Linked DNA regions of Homo sapiens: all the other regions are linked to region 1. The links are contacts of gene promoters, found by promoter capture Hi-C in blood cells and fetal thymus (Javierre and others, 2016). All regions are on one chromosome and are shown on one strand. Each heading gives the region's core, a stretch centred on a gene start or on the middle of the fragment in contact. The rest is flanking DNA. Distances are from core to core; before and after follow the strand shown.

Evidence for each region. The method cuts DNA at HindIII sites, captures the fragments that hold promoters and counts their contacts. A CHiCAGO score of 5 or more calls a contact.
Region 2: the fragment with the promoter of FRAT1 here is called in contact with the fragment with the promoter of ZFYVE27 in region 1 in 5 of 17 cell types (neutrophils, non-activated CD4 T cells, fetal thymus and 2 more); the score reaches 11.8 in neutrophils.
Region 3: a fragment that was not itself captured here is called in contact with the fragment with the promoter of ZFYVE27 in region 1 in 3 of 17 cell types (naive CD4 T cells, naive CD8 T cells and non-activated CD4 T cells); the score reaches 7.1 in naive CD4 T cells.
Region 4: a contact is called between the fragment with the promoter of EXOSC1 here and the fragment with the promoter of ZFYVE27 in region 1, in 3 of 17 cell types (neutrophils, naive CD4 T cells and naive CD8 T cells). The highest score is 6.3, in neutrophils.
Region 5: a contact is called between a fragment that was not itself captured here and the fragment with the promoter of ZFYVE27 in region 1, in 1 of 17 cell types (neutrophils). The highest score is 6.8, in neutrophils.
Region 6: a fragment that was not itself captured here is called in contact with the fragment with the promoter of ZFYVE27 in region 1 in 1 of 17 cell types (M2 macrophages); the score reaches 5.3 in M2 macrophages.

The regions. Positions count from the first base shown.
Region 1 is chr10:97,735,532-97,738,385 of GRCh38, forward strand. It overlaps ZFYVE27 (zinc finger FYVE-type containing 27), which reads left to right and starts at 1,597. Exons shown (of 13, transcript NM_001385875.1): 1 at 1,597-1,790. RefSeq lists an enhancer at 1,313-1,462 and a silencer at 1,793-1,862. The HindIII fragment of the contact is 3,622 bases long and covers 927-2,854 here.
Region 2 is chr10:97,317,854-97,320,553 of GRCh38, forward strand. FRAT1 (FRAT regulator of Wnt signaling pathway 1) reads left to right here and starts at 1,418. Exons shown (of 1, transcript NM_005479.4): 1 at 1,418-2,700. The coding sequence starts at 1,601. The coding sequence ends at 2,440. RefSeq lists enhancers at 732-1,521, 1,259-1,553, 2,643-2,700 and silencers at 1,393-1,702, 2,203-2,302. The HindIII fragment of the contact is 4,234 bases long and covers 1-2,288 here.
Region 3 is chr10:97,404,993-97,407,809 of GRCh38, forward strand. No RefSeq gene overlaps it. Among named protein-coding and RNA genes, the nearest start is that of RRP12, 5.1 kb to the left of the region's middle. The HindIII fragment of the contact is 7,850 bases long and covers 1-2,817 here.
Region 4 is chr10:97,444,653-97,447,432 of GRCh38, forward strand. EXOSC1 (exosome component 1) reads right to left here and starts at 1,354. Exons shown (of 8, transcript NM_016046.5): 1 at 1,303-1,354; 2 at 1,080-1,195. The coding sequence starts at 1,333. ZDHHC16 (zDHHC palmitoyltransferase 16) reads left to right here and starts at 1,523. Exons shown (of 12, transcript NM_198046.3): 1 at 1,523-1,701. RefSeq lists enhancers at 483-1,063, 1,064-1,643 and a silencer at 1,575-1,784. The HindIII fragment of the contact is 1,823 bases long and covers 611-2,433 here.
Region 5 is chr10:97,282,349-97,285,048 of GRCh38, forward strand. All of the region lies in intron 1 of ARHGAP19 (Rho GTPase activating protein 19), which reads right to left. The region is part of intron 1 of ARHGAP19-SLIT1 (ARHGAP19-SLIT1 readthrough (NMD candidate)); the gene reads right to left. Among named protein-coding and RNA genes, the nearest start is that of ARHGAP19, 8.9 kb to the right of the region's middle. The HindIII fragment of the contact is 3,036 bases long and covers 1-2,700 here.
Region 6 is chr10:98,048,017-98,050,716 of GRCh38, forward strand. No RefSeq gene overlaps it. Among named protein-coding and RNA genes, the nearest start is that of CRTAC1, 19 kb to the left of the region's middle. The HindIII fragment of the contact is 1,514 bases long and covers 589-2,102 here.

The sequences.
Region 1 (2,854 bases), core at 347-2,846:
GACTACCCCCCAATGGTAACATCTTGCAACCCTTCTTAACAGAATGCCTACTATGTGCCAGGTACTGCTTTAGGTGCTGGAGACATAGACACGGGAAACGAAACATTAGCTGACAGAAGCCACAAGAGTGAATGAGATCCTCACGGAGTGCCTTGAGTCAGAAGAAAGAAGGGTAGCAAAAGGAGCCCCAGCATTTGAGGGGTAGGAAGAAAAGCCCTAAGGAGACCTTGAAGGTCGGAAAGAGAGGAGAGGGTGGTGTCATGGAAGCTAAGGTGGACAATGGTGCCAAAAAGGAAAGAGATTCCAGTGCTTCTGAGGTCATCTGCAAGGAGGACTGGGAAGTGTCCATTGGATTTAGCAGCCAGGATGTCACAGGTGAGCAGGCAGGTAGCCCAGAAATATGGAGGGGAGCAGGACCACAGTGCAGTGAGGAGTGAATTGGGCGAGGAAGCAGCGGTAGAGAGCACTTCACAGTGAGTCTTCCAACTCATGTAGGAAAGAGGGGGTAAAGTTAGGCTAAAGGAGAAATTTTCCATGAATTTTGTCTCTAGAATGATGATTAAGAGTTAGCGAGAGTCAAGATTTCAGGCCTGTTAGAGCAAAGCCCTAAGGAAATAAGAGTTGGACCCTGGAGCACAGCTAAGTCCTGGCTGGAGGGATGGGCCTGTCTTTCTGAAAGGAGATAATGGAGGAAGAGATGCAGTTAAAGCTCTGTGGCTACTTGAAGAGGGAAGTGATTACTTCCAGCTGGGGCACTCAAGGAAGGGATACAGACATTTGAGTGCCAGGGGCATTTGAGGGTAACAGTGGAGGGGTTCAGTTGGCCAAAGTTAAAGGCAGCTGAAAGATGGCAGGAGACAAGACCAGGAAATGCAGACCAAGGTGGGTGGTGGTATGGTTGGGGCGTTGGGGTCAGATGACACATAAGCTTCAAATTCCAGCTCCCATTTGCTTCTTAGCTGTGACTCTAAAGAAGTTCCTTAACACGTCTGAGATTCCCCATCTGTAAAATGGCGACAACCCTAATAGGGTCGTTGGAGGAGAACTAGATAATGTCTAAAAAGAGCTCAGTCCGGTTCAGTGCTTGGCTCCTCTGTACCTGAGCGCTAAGTCACTAATATAAAGCCATCGGATGTGTGCTTTAAGGGAAATTAACTGGGCCACACGGTGTGAAGTGAACTGAGCTGGGAGAGGCCTGCACAGGACCTTGTACACACTAGCTACTCCGGAAACAACTGCATGCTCTGCTGGGCATCTCATACAGGATACGGTGTCTTTCCGGGGCTCACACACAGTCCCCAGTTCAGTTCCAAAGTTGGAAGGAAAGAGGATGAAGACGTAAATTCTTCATTTAAGCCTCTCGCCAACTGTTCCCTGCGGCAAGGCAGGGCAACGAGCTGCAGGGTCGCCAAGCACGTGCTTCCAAGGGTCCTCAAGGCTTTGTGAACGGCGGCCGGCCAAGGACAGAATTAACTCCAGCCTGGAGCGCGCGGGAAAGACGCGCAGGCGCACTGCTGGCAAGGGTGCTTGCCTGTGCTGGGGTGGGCGGAGCTAAACCCGGAGCGGGATGACGTCATGAGGACGCAGCCGCAGAGCGATTCGCGTCCCGGAAGCGGCGGTGGCGGCCGCGGCGTAGGCGGAGGAGATTTTCGGACCTGCGACTTCCGAACAACCCTGGCAGGAGGAGCGGCGTTCAGCCGGGGGAGGCCTGAAGAAACGCTCCGGGGCCCAGTGGCTCTACCCCTGCTCCTGCCCGACCCTGCCGCCTCCCTCACGGAGCCAGCGGCCGGGTAGGTGAGGTGCCGTCCCCCCGCGTCCCAGTGTCTCCGCAGGCTGTGTGTAGTTGGGTGCTTGGGCGCAGCGGGGGCCGCCACATGCTGGCCCCACGACCTCGGGCATGGCCTTCCCTGTCCAGCCTCACGGGCTCCATCAGGCCCCCCTGGCTGCAGAGGTGTTGGCCAAGGCCAGTGCGGGCGTCGATATACCTCGCCCCTTCCTGGGCTCATACCTGGCGCCGCTCTGTGCCCTTTCGCCTTGGCTCGGCCTGCGGGGATTTCGGGGTCCCGTTGGCCCCTTTGTCCCATCCCCTCACCCTCCCATCAGGTCGCGGCTGATTGCCTGGGACTGGTTTATGTTGCTCTTCGCCGAGGTTCCGCCCCCTCGTTTGCTGCTTAGAGTTCAGGATAGGACTTTGAACTGGGAAAGACCGTAAAGGCTCCTCGGTTTCCTCATCAGAAAGGGCAGACGGGAATGGGGCGTTCTGATGCCGACTGCCCTGGGGCAGAGATGGCCCAGGAAGTTGTTGGGAACCGAAGGGAGTGGGAAGAGTTAGAGGATCGGGCGAGAGTCCTGGAGCACGGTATTTCATTCACTCATTCAGCAGGCATTTGTTAAGCACCCACTGTGTACAGAAGCAGTCGTGAATGGAGGCCAGTTAAGAGCAGGGAGTTTTACTTTGACGTGGTCAGTGCTCTGCACTTGATCTTAGCCACAAGGCCAAGAAGCGATGTGATGTGATAAGTGCTCTGTTAGGGTGAGTACGTGATCCTTTGGGAGCATCGGAGAGGGTCTCCCAGTCCAGAGTTGGGGGTGTTGGCAGAGACTTCCCAGAGTAAGGGAGTGATGTTTAAGCTGATACCTGAAGGATGAGTAGGAATTAACCAGGTAAAGAGTGGGAGAAAAATGTTCCAGGACATCATTTCATTTCAGCCCATGGGCTGCCTCGCTGCAGCGATCATTTATGCTTGGTTTTTATGATTTTTAGTTTTGATGGATCTTTGGGGAAAAGAGCATTGGATGGAGAGTACAAAGAACAGGATTTTAGGTCTGAATAGTTCACTTTCCCTTGCTCACA
Region 2 (2,700 bases), core at 168-2,667, 420 kb before region 1:
AAGAAAAGAAAGAGAAAGAAAAGGAAGAAAGGAAGGAAGGAAGCGTATCTCCATTTTCATCCAAACAGGTATTTTTCTCTGCTACTACGTACCTCCTCAGAGCCCATCCCCCCTACTGGTCTGAGGCTTTTTTTTAAACAACTTTCTGGACATAGCCCCTCTTAAGACTAACAACCTATAGCCAGGCGTGGTGGCTCACGCTTGTAATCCCAGGATTTTGGGAGGCCGAGGCAGGTGGATCACCTGAGGTCGGGAGTACCAGACCAGCCTGACCAATATGGAGAAACCCCATCTCTGCTAAAAACACAAAATTAGGCTGGGCATGGCGGCGCATGCCTGTAATCCCAGCAACTCGGGAGGCTGAGGCAGGAGAACTGCTTGAACCCAGGAGGCGGAAGTTGTGGTGAGCGGAGATTGCGCCATTGTACTCCAGCCTGGGCAACAAGAGCGAAACTCTGTCTCAAAAAAACAAAACAAAACAAAAAGAGTAGCAACCTAGGCCGGGCGCAGTGGCTCACGCCTGTAATCCCAGCACTTTGGGAGGCTGAGGCGGGTGGATCACCTGAGGTCAGGAGTTCGAGACCAGCCTGGCCAACATGGTGAAACCCCGTCTCTACTAAAAATACAAAAATTAGCCGGGCGTGGTGGTGGGCGCCTGTAATCCCAGCTACTCGGAAGGCTGAGGCAGGAGAATTGCTTAAACGCAGGAGGCGGAGGTTGTAGTGAGTGGAGATCGAGCCACTGCACTCCAGCCTGGGCGATAGAGCGAGACTCCGTCTCAAAAAAACAAACAAACAAATAAACAAAAAGACTAGCAACCTCCTCTCCAGCAATGCCAACCCCAGTCCAGGCCCCCATCCGCCCAGGATCTCGATCAAAAAACATTAATCTGTGGCCTTTCTTTGCCATTTCCAACTCTGCCACCTCCATCGAACGACAAGGTCCCCTTCTTCCTTTCCATTCCCGTCAGCTTCATTTCCCTAATCTCCGTACAAATCCCTAGCCTGACTCCCTTTCCTTTCCATCCTCACCAGACGCCCGCATGCCGGACCTCAAAAGCGCAAACGCTAAAAACCGGTTGAGTTGACGCACGGAGAGAAGGGGTGTGTGGGTGGGTGGGTGTGTGTTAGTGTGCGTGCTTGCTTGTGTGTGGAAGAAACCAACAGGGTTCACGCTGGTGCCCATTTCTGGAAATGCCAATCGCGCCCGACTGCGGGAGCCAGGATCAGGTCCCCAGGGCGCCCTTGCAGACAGCACCCTGAGCGAAGGAGCTCAGAAGGCAGTCCGGCTTCACCCAGACCCCCAATCCCACAGAAGCGCCGTCCCCCAGCGGCACAGCACCCCCTCCCCGGCGCGGTGGTAGGGCCCGACGTGACGTCACCCATTGTTTACAAATCAACCCGAGCCGGCAGGATTCCGGCTCCCGCGGCTGCAGGCGCGCGGCTAGAGTGCCTGGCGGGCTCCGGCTTCCGCGTCCGCCCCGGCCCCGGTCCAGACTTAGTCTTCAGCTCCGCGCCCGCTCCGCCGCGGCCCACCGCGCCCGCCGGCAGCCGAGCCCCCAGCGACGCCCGCACAGCTCCGGGTGCCCAGACAGGGGGCCATGCCGTGCCGGAGGGAGGAGGAAGAGGAAGCCGGCGAGGAGGCGGAGGGGGAGGAAGAGGAGGAGGACAGCTTCCTCCTACTGCAGCAGTCAGTGGCGCTGGGCAGCTCGGGCGAGGTGGACCGGCTGGTGGCCCAGATCGGCGAGACGCTGCAGCTGGACGCGGCGCAGCACAGCCCGGCCTCGCCGTGCGGGCCCCCGGGGGCGCCGCTGCGGGCCCCGGGGCCCCTGGCTGCGGCGGTGCCGGCGGACAAGGCCAGGTCCCCGGCGGTGCCGCTGCTGCTGCCGCCCGCGTTGGCGGAGACTGTGGGCCCGGCGCCCCCTGGGGTCCTGCGCTGCGCCCTGGGGGACCGCGGCCGCGTGCGGGGCCGCGCTGCGCCCTACTGCGTGGCCGAGCTCGCCACAGGCCCCAGCGCGCTGTCCCCACTGCCCCCTCAGGCCGACCTTGATGGGCCTCCGGGAGCTGGCAAGCAGGGCATCCCGCAGCCGCTGTCGGGTCCGTGCCGGCGAGGATGGCTCCGGGGCGCCGCCGCCTCCCGCCGCCTGCAGCAGCGACGCGGGTCCCAACCAGAAACCCGCACAGGCGACGACGACCCGCACCGGCTTCTGCAGCAGCTAGTGCTCTCTGGAAACCTCATCAAGGAGGCCGTGCGAAGGCTTCATTCGCGACGGCTGCAGTTACGTGCAAAGCTTCCCCAACGCCCGCTCCTGGGACCTCTGTCGGCCCCGGTGCATGAACCCCCTTCGCCTCGCAGCCCTCGCGCGGCCTGCAGTGACCCTGGCGCCTCCGGGAGGGCGCAGCTCAGAACTGGCGACGGCGTTCTTGTGCCTGGCAGCTAACACGCCCGGGGTGGCCACAGCGCCAGCCTCAGACTGGAGGGCAAGGGGTTCCCTTGAGGGCTGCAGTTCTACTCAGGCTGGTGGAGAACTCTGGCTTTTGGAAGCGAGAGTAAAAAGCTAATGACGAGGAACCGAAAAATCGCGAGTGTTTCGCGGGTAACTGGGGTTGAGGGCCAAAATATTTGGAATGAAGGACTTTGGCCCTATTTAAGGCAGATTTTACAGAGCGCACCTCAAACGTACAAGTCAGTAGGACTCCT
Region 3 (2,817 bases), core at 34-2,533, 330 kb before region 1:
TTTGAGACAGAGTCTTCCTCTGTCACTCAGGTTGAAATGCAGTGGCACAATCATGGCTCACTGCAGCCTTGACCTCCAGGCTCAAGCAATCCTCCCACTTCTGCCTCCCGAGTAGCTGGAACCACAGGCATGCATTGCCATGCCTGGCTAATTTTTTTTTTTTTTTAAAGCTAGGGCCTCACTCTGTCACCCAGGCTGGAGTCCAGTGGCATGATCATGGCTCACTATAACCTTAAACTCCTGAATTCAAGTCATCCTCCTGCTTTGGCCTCCCAAATAGCTGGGGCTACAGACACATACCCACCACACCAAGCTAATTTTTTTTTTAAGAGACAGAGTCTTGGCCAGGCGCGGTGGCTCACGCCTGTAATCTCAGCACTCTGGGAGGCCGAGGCGGGCAGATCACAAGGTCAGGAGATCGAGACCATCCTGGCTAACACAATGAAACCCTGTCTCTACTAAAAATATAAAAAATTAGCTGGGCGTGGTGGCGGGCACCTGTAGTCCCAGCTACTCGGGAGGCTGAGGCAGGAGAATGGCGTGAACCCAGGAGGCGGAAGTTGCAATGAGCTGAGATCGTACCACTGCACTCCAGCCTGGGCAGCAGAACGAGACTCCTTCTCCAAAAAAAAAAAAAAGAGACAGAATCTTGCTATCGTTGCCCAGACAAATCTCGATCTCCTGGCTTCAAGTGATCTGCTCGCCTTGGCCTCCCAAAGTGCTGGGATTATAGGCGTGAGCCACCATGCCCTGCTTACATGTATATTACACTTCATGGGCTTACTGAAAATACAAAGTGGGCCGGGGGCGGTGGCTTACGCCTGTAATGCCAACACTCTGGGTGGCTGAGGCAGGCAGATAACTTGAGCCCAGGAGTTCGAGACCAGCCTGAGCAATATGGTGAAACCCCGTCTCTACAAAAAATATGACAATTAGCCAGGCATGATGGCAGACACCTGTAGTCCCAGCTACTCGGAGGCTGAGGTGGGAGGATCGCTTGAACCCGGGAGGCGGAGGTTGCAGTGACTCGAGATTAAGCCACTGCACTCTAGCCTGGGTGACAGAGTGAGACTCTGTCTCAAAAAACAACAAAAAAAAGTGGTCCTCTCACCTAGAGCAGAGAGAGCATAAAGTGTGTTAATGTGAGAAAGCGTCGCTGCAGAGAAGACTGAAGTCAGTTCAGACTCTAGGCCCCAGCCCTTCCAAGTCTCTGAAGACATTATCATCCTCCAGTGGGGCCCTGTGCCTGGGTCACAGGCTGAGACCTCAGTGGGAAGGCTGAGAAAAGGGAACTGGTGGCTGGGGGAGGAAAAGGAAGCAGAATGTGGAAACTGTTATAAGCGAGCTGTGCTCACAACCAGAGGTCTAGACTTGGGGTAATTGCTGAAAGAAGGCAGGTAAAGTGGTGGGTTCAAGACAGGACATACTTTACCTATAAACCAAGCAAGGGATTTAACCTCTCTAAGTCTCCGATTCTTGTTCTTTTTTTCCCTTTATTTATTTATTTATACATTTTTTTTACACATTCTAATGTGTCATATTATTTAAAGTTACGATAATAATTACTTTTTTTTTTTCTGAGATGGAGTCTCACTCTATTGCTCAGGCTGGAGTGCGGAGGCGCGATCTTGACTCACTGCAACCTCCACCGCCTGGGTTCAAGCGATTCTCCTGCCTCAGGCTCCCAAGTAGCTGGGATTACAAGCATGTGCCACCACGCCCAGATGACTTTTTGTAATTTTAGTAGAGATGGGGTTTCATCATGTTGGCCAGGCTGTTCTCAAACTCCTGACCTCAAGTGATCCACCCACCTTGGCCTCCCAAAGTGCTGGGATTCCAGGTGTGAACCACTGTGCCTGGCTGAAAGTTGTGATAATAATTCTGAACCCACTGGGCTGCTGTGAGGATTCAGTATGAAACTGTGTATCTGTGGCTGGGCATGGTAGCTTACATCTGTAATCCCAGTACTTTGGGAGGCCGAGGCAGGTGGATCACCTGAGGTCAGGAGTTCGAGACCAGCCTGGCCAACATAGCGAAACCCCGTCTCTACTAAAAATACAAAAATTAACCAGGCGTTATGGTGCACGCCTGTAATCCCAGCTACTTGGGGGGCTGAGGCAGGAGAATCGTTTGAACCCGGGAGGCAGAGGTTGCAGTGAGCCAAAATCGTGCCACTGTACCCCAGCCTGGGCAACAGAGTGCGACTTCGTCTCAAAAATAAATAAATAAATAAATAAAAATAAAAGAAACTGTGTATCTGTGTCAAATTACGGACAACTCCAAAACATGTGTAGTATTGTGCTTTACAGAGGGGTCAGTGGTGCATCTTTGCCACCAGAGGGAGTGCTACCAACAACCTGTTAGGGCTAAAACCCTATAGAGAGCCTGCAATACCAACTAGTAGACTGGGATTTTGCAAATCAGATGCGGAGATGCAGAGGCCAAGGGTAGTGGCAGATGTCCCATCCTTTTCCTGGGCTACAGAAACCTGCTGGCCTCCAAACCGAGTCTGCGTCGTAACTGAATACAGCCCTGGCTAAATCGTCAGCCTGGTATGGGCATTGAGGGGCCCTAGGTCACCTGCTGGCCGTCCATCCTGAGGCATCTGCTCAGAGCCTCCTCCAGGAGGCGTGCTCTACCAGAAGAGAGGACGATAGGCATCCAAATGGCCTGAGCACAATCTCTTCCACCCGGTACCCCAGGGCTCACCTCTCCACCCCTGAATTCCAGCAGTAACTCCCACCCAGAGGCTCTAGCTGTATCCATGATCAGCCCCTCCACATATGGTTAATAAGGACCACCACATCTGTAGGATAG
Region 4 (2,780 bases), core at 104-2,603, 290 kb before region 1:
CAAGTGATATCTATGAAATGAACAAACTCAGGACTGTTAAGAACATTCCCAACAATGACTGAATAGAAAGCCCCTTGAATCAGACAGCTTAAGTTACTTACTCAAAGCAGAATCAAAGTCAAGTTAGCCAGAACGTAACTGTTCTAATTCTGAATCCTCTTTCTATTGTGCTCCTTCAAATATTGCTTATATGATCCTGAGCTAATCCTGGATCTATCTCTGAAACTAGAAAGGTAGGTATTACTCACACATTCAACATTTATTGAGGAGCTGCCTTGTGCTATATACGGATGGTATGGTGGTAGGGCCTGCTTTCACGGACTTAGATTTAAGCAGGGGAGAAGTCTAGTAGGAAACATATACCTGAGTGTCTCATCATATGCTGACATAGTGCTTGGAAGAAAAGGAACAGAGTTTTTTGTGAGTCTTTAACAAAACAAACAAAAACAAAACACCCCACAAAACTCCTTTCCTCAATTAGTGGGTCCAGAAGGACTTCTCTGAGGTGATAGTAGAGAAGCTATCTAAAGGAGGTAGGAATTAAATAGGCCTAGGAAGATAGAAGCGTTCCAGATAGATGGCATGTTACAAAGGCTCTGTAGCAGGAGAAAGCTTGGCGCATTACCGACACTGAAAGAAGCTAGTATGTTATAAAAAATTTTTAAAGGGCAAGCAGAGACTGTGATTATAACTTTTAAACACAGAAAAGACAGTATGACTAGATTGCGTCAGTGAGGTGGAGATAGTGGCGCTAGATAAAGTCGGAAAGGTAAGCAACATTCATACAGTATGCAACTCACTGCTGGGCTGAGCTGGGCTGGGATGGGATACTGAGTTCGCATCTGCTTTTGTCCCAACTTCCCTCCCCGAGGGTCAGCAGCACAACCAAGCGAGATCAACACAACTAGTGTGTGGTGGCTAAGTGCACCACAGCGGCGATACGGCTAGAAGAAACTAAGAGACCAACATTGTACCACTGAGGCACTAAAGACGCGTCCGCAGTGCCCATGCCTAAGGACTGGAACTCAAGGGCAGCCTAAGGGAAAAACAGAGGGGAGATGGCATGCCGCTTCCTTTACCGCGCCATTCTCGCTGCTCTTCATCAGACAGCCGGCAAGCGACGAAAAGATGTAGCCGTGGCGGGTGTAGGTGCCGCTGCCCGGGCTGCCCTCCTCCAAGTTACACAGACGTTCGCCTGCAGAAAAAATGCTGCATCGGTCACGGGCCCCCAGAAGCTGTAGGCCGTTTAGCCTTCTTGCTTCAGCCCCTATCCAGGACTCTGTACGGGAAGCGCTCACTTACCGGGGATGCAGTATCTCACAGGTGGCGCCATGATTGCCGCTGTCCCAAAACCAGGATGAAAACGAAGTCGATTTCTCATTGGCCAAACCCAGGCACAGTTCCGCAGTAAGACACGTGTCAATTGGTACTCTTTATCCTTGCGAGTAAACTCCATTTCCCAGGTTACCCCGGGACAAATCCGGGGGCGGAACTTCAGAGGTCCACGCTGGCGCCTGCGCGTGTGGTTGAGGATGGGCTGGCGGCGGGTCCGGGTCCGCTGCCTGGCGCTGCGGGCGGCGGGCCATGGTGGTTTGGATTGAGCCGGGCCCGGCCGGGGCGCCGAGTCGGAGGGGGTGGCAGTGAGCGGCGGCAGAGGCTACGGGGCTCGGTTTGGCTGACTGGGGAGTCGGCAGGCGGCAGGTAAGGGCGAAGCCTCGGCCCTTGCTCCCCATCCTAGTCCCTTTTTCTGGGTAGGGCACTGCCCTGGGGCCTTGTCTTGAGTGCGGGTTCCTGCTCTCTCCTCGCCCCGCCCTGCGGGGCCGTGCCCTCCTCAGCCCGAGCGCACCTTCCGAGCAATCGTTACGCTCAGAGCAGGAGGGAAGGAGGTCAAGCGACCCAACTCGTCTGTTTCACAGATATGGAACCTCAGATTCAGAGACAGGGTTTGACTTGTCCAAAATGATCAAGATAGTTAAGATAGAGCCCAAACTGGAACCCACGGTTTTTGACTTCCAGTCCATCGCAGTTTCACCTCGCGGCTGTCATTGAGAAATAAAACCTTTTCCCGGTTTTTTTGTTTTGTTTTTGAGGAGTCTCGCTCTGTCGCCAGGCTGGAGTGCAGTGGAGCGATCTCTGTTCACTGCAACCTCCGCCTCCCGGCATCAAGCGATTCTCCTGCCTCAGCCTCCCGCGCAGCTGGGACTTACAGGCGCGCGCCACCACGCCCAGCTAATTTTTGTAGTTTTAGTAGTGACGGGGTTTCACCATGTTAGCCAGGATGGTCTTGATCTCTTGATCCGCCCGCCTCGGCCTTCCAAAGTGCAGGGAGTACAGGCATGAGCCACTGCCTCCGGCCTTTTCCCGGTTTTTTAAACTGCAGCTTCCAGTCCTGCGGTCCGATCCTCTTCGCGGCCCCTCATCCCCACTTCAGTAAGCTTTCTCTGGTTGAAAAAGCCGAACTCTGGTTGTGTGGGCCCGTCATCAAAAGATAAGCAGCCCCAAAATAAAGTTGTTACTCTTTTTCTTCTCAGCGTGTTAGCCCAGAAGGGAGGTCTGCACATGAATAAAATGCTACTCTTTATTGATGTTGGGTATCTCCTACTTGAGATTGCAAACATCCTGAGAGCAGCGTCTTTGTCCAGATGACATTCGCCACGACTTTGATCTCAGTTCACCTGACTTCTGATGGCTTTGCCGTCTGTCCTTCCCTGTCCCCTCAGTCGACTTTCCCATTGGGAAACAGATGTGACTTAAAGCCATGGGAAGAGGGGAGTGTTGTG
Region 5 (2,700 bases), core at 67-2,566, 450 kb before region 1:
GAAACCAGATCTAAGACAGTAAAGAGGTAGATATCTAACAACACTGAGATTTGAGATTTTCCATACAGATTAAACCATACTTGATTTATCCCCTGGACTTTTCAGTTTCTTGAGCCAATTAATAGAGTCTCTTTTTGCTTAAGCTAGTTTTAGTTTCTATCACATATAACTGAAGAATCCTAACAAATATGAATGTGTAAGTCTGTTTGTCCCAGTATGAATCTGAGCCCTCCCTTCTGTATCTTCCCCTTCAGAGCAATGGCTGCCAATCAGTCAGCCATGGCCATGCCATCTCCAGCAAGGTCTGGAACTCTGCCCTAGGGACCCTCTTCCTTGTACATTCTAACTCAGCTGATTCCTGTATCTATTTCTATATTTCTTAGAGATCTCTTTACTTCTTACTAGCCAATTCCTTGTTACTCGAATCCCCAGTTATAGTTTATAACCTATTAAATGTTCTCTGTTTAAAGTACTATGTAGTTTCTTTTTTCTTTTTTTTTTTTTTTTTTTTGAGACAGAGTCTCACTCTGGTCGCCCAGGCTGGAGTGCAGTGGTGCGATCTCGGCTTACTGCAACCTCCACCTCCCAGGTTCAAGCGATTCTCCTGCCCCAGCCTCCCAAGTAGCTGGGATTACAGGCGTCTGCCACCACGCCTGGCTAATTTTTGTATTTTTAGTAGAGACGGGGTTTCACCATATTGGCCAGGCTGGTCTTGAACTCCTGACCTCAGGCAATCCACCCACCTCAGCCTCCCAAAGTGCTGGGATTACAGGCGTGAGCCACCCGCCCGGCTGTTACTATGTAGTTTCTATGGCCTAGCTGAATTTAGTTTATATCGGGTAACAGTAGCAAAACATCAGCACAAAATAAATAGGCTCCAGCATCTGTAGAAACAACCCACCCTAAAAGATGGTTAGTAAAAGTGTAGGTGAGAGTGTTCACTGAAGGTGACCAGAGGGCATCTTCAGGAGGCTGAGGTGGGTGGATCATGAGGTCAAGAGTTCGAGACCAACCTGGCCAACATGGTGATACCCCGTCTCTACTAAAAATACAAAAATTAGCCAGCATGGTGGCGCATGCCTGTAGTCCCAGCTACTCGGGAGGCCGAGGCAGGAGAACTGCTTGAACCCAGGAGACGGAGGCTGCAGCAAGCTGAGATCATGCCACTGCACTCCGGCCTGGGCAACAGAGTGAGACTCTGTCTCAAAAAAAAAAAAAATTGTATTTCAATCACTCTTTTGCTATACTGTTTCCAACCAGAAATGATGCACTTATTGGGAGGAAACTGGGAAACCAAGATAGAAATCAGATCTTGGATGGGTCATATTTTAGATAAGAGGCATTACAGTTTAAGACTCAGAAGGAACCAGACATGGTGGCTCACACCTGTAATCCCAGCACTTTGGGTTGCCAAGGTGGGAGGAGTACATGAGCCCAAGAGTTTGAGACCGCCTAGACAACATAGTGAAACTTCATCTCTATTAAAAAAAAAAAAAAAAAAACTGTCTCAATATTAATAATGGTTGTATCTATCTGGTAAATTGGAGTGGCTAGTTTACCATTTTTCTACATATTTTTCTTTCCTTTTTTTTTCTTTTTTTTAGAGACAGGGTCTCACTCTGGCACCCAGGCTGGAGCACAGTGGTGTCATCATAGCTCACTGCAGCCTTAAGCTCCTAGGTTCAAGCAATCTTCCCACCTCATCCTCCCCAGTAGCTGGGACTACAGGTGCACACCACCACACCTAGCTTTTTTCTCTTATTTTTATTTGTATTTTTTGCTTTTTGTTTTTGAGACATTGTCTCACTCTGTTGCCCAAGCTGGAGTACAGTGGTGCAATCTTGGCTCACTGCAACTTCTGCCTCCCAGGTTCAAGCGATTCTCTTGCCTCAGCCTCTTAAGTAGCTGGGATTACAGATGTGCGACACCATGCCCAGCTAATTTTTGTCTTTTTAGTAGAGACAGGGTTTCACCATGTTGGCCAGGCTGGTCTCGAACTACTGACCTCAAGTGTTCTGCCCACCTTGGCCTCCCAAAGTGCTGGGATTATAGGCGTGAGACACTCAGACCAGCCCCCATTTTTTTCTACATATTTTTCTAGCCTTCTGTAGTAAATATTATATAAGTTTATTTCATAGTGGGGAAGAGGGGAAAAAAGTATATACTGGGGGTTTTTTGAGGCAAGGTCTTGTTCTATTGCCCATGCTAGAATGGTGGCATACTCACGGTTCAGTGCATCCTTGACCTCCCAGGCTCAAGCAATCCTCCTGCCTCGGCCTTCCTAGCAGCTGAGACCAGAGGCATGTGCCACCACGCCTGGCTAACTATTTTTATTTTTAGTAGAGACAATGTCTTGCTAGGTTGCCCAGGCTGGTCTCAAACTCCTGGGCTCAAGTGATCCTACCACCTCAGCCTCCCAAAGTGGTAGGATTACAGATGAGAGCCACCACTTTTAGCCAAACTATATACTCTTAACAAAAAAGAAAGAAAGAAAAAAAAGCATATACTTTTTTTTTTTTTTTTTTTTTCCTGTGAGACTGAGTCTCGCTGTGTCGCCCAGGCTGGAGTGCAATGGTGTGATCTTAGCTCACCACAACCTCCGCCTCCCAGGTTCAAGCGATTCTCCTACCTCAGCCTCCCAAGTAGCTGCGATTACAGGTGCATGCCACTGCACCCAGCTAATTTTTTGTATTTTTAGTA
Region 6 (2,700 bases), core at 96-2,595, 310 kb after region 1:
TCCTCTATTTCCACTCCCACAATTAGTTGGCTTCCCAATTCATCATTTTTATTATTTGAGACATGGTCTTGCTCTGTCACCTTTGCTGGAGTGCAGTGGCGTGATCACAGCTCACTGCAGCCTTGACCTGCCTGGGCTCAGGTGATCCTCCCATCTCAGCCTCCTGAGTAGCTGGGACTACAGGCATGCACCACCATGCCCAGCTATTTTTTTTTTTTTGGACTTTTTGTAGAGAGGGAGCTTCACCATGTTGGCCAGTCTGGTCTCAAACTCCCAGGCTCAAGTGATCTGCCCACCTCAGCCTCCCAAAATGGTAGGATTACAGGCCTAAGGCCCTCACCCTAATTATTATTTTATTCATCAAATATTTATAGAGTTCCTACTATGCACTAGGTCCTGTGTTAGGCCCTGGGTCATTGTAGAGGCTCTTGGCACATGTGGGACTATGGTCAAAAGTTATCATTCGAATGAAATATGCTTATTACAATGGATATATGCTGAATAAATGAATAAGTCAGGAGACACCACGTGCTAGCTCTGACTCTAACACTGATGCCTTGGGTCTCCTTTGCCATTCTCTGTAAATGAAGCTTCCAGGCTGATATGCAATGCAAAGACTTAGATTAAGACATAAAGTCTTCAAATTTTAGAACTAGAAAAGACTTTGGCAGGCAAGTGATGTGAAATTTTAGAGGGAAAGTGATCCCTTTGAAAATCAAATGAGATATGGACTCCTTTATCTAAATACACAAAACACTATGCATACAAATGCTGGGGATTCCTAGAACATTTGAAGCCTATTTGTGGACTTCCTAGCAATCCACAGGCCAAGAACCTCACATCTGGGCTAACCTCCCATTATTTGGGGTGAGAAATCTGAGACTCAGAGAAGGGAAGAGAAGCCCTACATCTCACAGCAAATCAGTAGCAAAGTCCATGCCTGAGATCTGGTTCCGTGCTCTCCCGCCACAGACCCCTGACTTACAGGAAGCACATGGAATATGAGGAAACCAGTACTGGCTCCCGGGAACACAGAACTTCAGGATGTCACATGCTGATATTTATTTTCTGTTAATATCTCTCAGGGACAGACAGAGTGGTTCAGACAACCAACTCTGTTTCCAGTGCGAGGCTATATGGCACCTCTGGATGCCTCCTAAAATTGGGCAGTTGGAAAGCTCCAGAGATGGACTGGCAGAGCTGGTGAGTCAAGGATGGAGGGAAGCAGGAAGCAGAGGAGAGTCTGGTGGTCTGGGTACTCAACAGCGAGGCCTCAAGGACAGTCAGCTTCCCTCTGTCCACTGGCTGGTCCCTGGAGTTCAGGGGGCTCTTCTGCCATGGGGCAGTGGTGCACGGTAAGGCAGAGCCTGGTCTCTGGCTATCATGGAAAGAACTAACTTAGCATAGTGCCTGAGAGCAGGGGCACTGGTGCCTCCCTGCTAGGGTTTAGAGTCATGTTGTTCTACTTCCTGGCTGTGCCACCTTGGGCCAATAGCTAACCTCTCTTCCTGATCTCTAAAGTGGGGCCTGTGATGCCTTTACACCATAGGCTTGTGAGAATTACATGAGTTCGTTCTTGCAAAATGCTTAGAACAGAGCCTGACATATAATAAATGCCATACAAATGTATGATAATTCAGGGCATAAAATCCATACTTCCTCAGGCATCAGTTTTCCTCTGCTGGATTCTTTAGAACAAGCCACTACACTTCAAAAAAAGTTACATTTTTAAAAAATCAACTTTATCAAATTATAAATTATATGCAATCATATGTAATAATATGTACCTATTGTAATTGTACATTCAGACAAATTAGTTTTGGTAAATGTATGCATTTGTGTAACCACAACCGCAATCGGGATATAGAATGTTTTCATCACCCCCAAAACTTCTTTTCTGTCCCTCGTCCCAGTCAATCCTCCTTTATCTCCATCTCCAAATGATCATGAAATTTGCCACCAAAGGTTATGGTGGCACATCTCTGTCAATGTGCATTCGCTGGGCACCAAATATATGGATGTCTCCCAATATATGTATGCATTTGTTATATAATATATATTATATATGTCCTGCTATCAGTCTGTATCATACCCACTAGGAAAGCTTACTTCATGTTTTTTTTTAGATAAAAATAAACACAAGAAAATTATTAAGCAAATGGTTAAGATGAGAACCATTGGTGGATTGGTGTAAAGGGAATACAAGAGTTCTTTTGTACAGTTCTTGAAAGTTTTCTGTAAGATTAACATTGTACCAAAATGAAAACTTACAGCAAATTGACCTAAGCAGCAGCCGGTAGAGCTATTGTTGGGCACTTTGCACACTGTCCGTTCTCAGAATCCCCTGGAAAGTTTCTGAACCCTGCCAAAGCCCAGGCCTCGCCCCAGCTCACAGGAATCAGAAGCTCCAGGGGTGGAGCTTTGGGCATCCACTTGGCTCACAGTGAGGGAGCCAGGGTTCCTGAGGGCCATGGGCCTTGGCAGGAGAGGACTCCCTTCAGCTGGCTGAGTCCACACTGGCCTTCAGAGTAAAATCGGCCAGGCTTGAGTTTGGCTAGAGAAGAACTTGCTCAAGTCGTGGGGCAGATGTGTTTGTGAAAATGCTTTGTATCTGTAAAGCACTGTATATGTCTAAGGGCAAAAACATCCCACTTTGGGAATGAGGTAGCTTAAAAGTGAATAACGCATACACAGAATAGA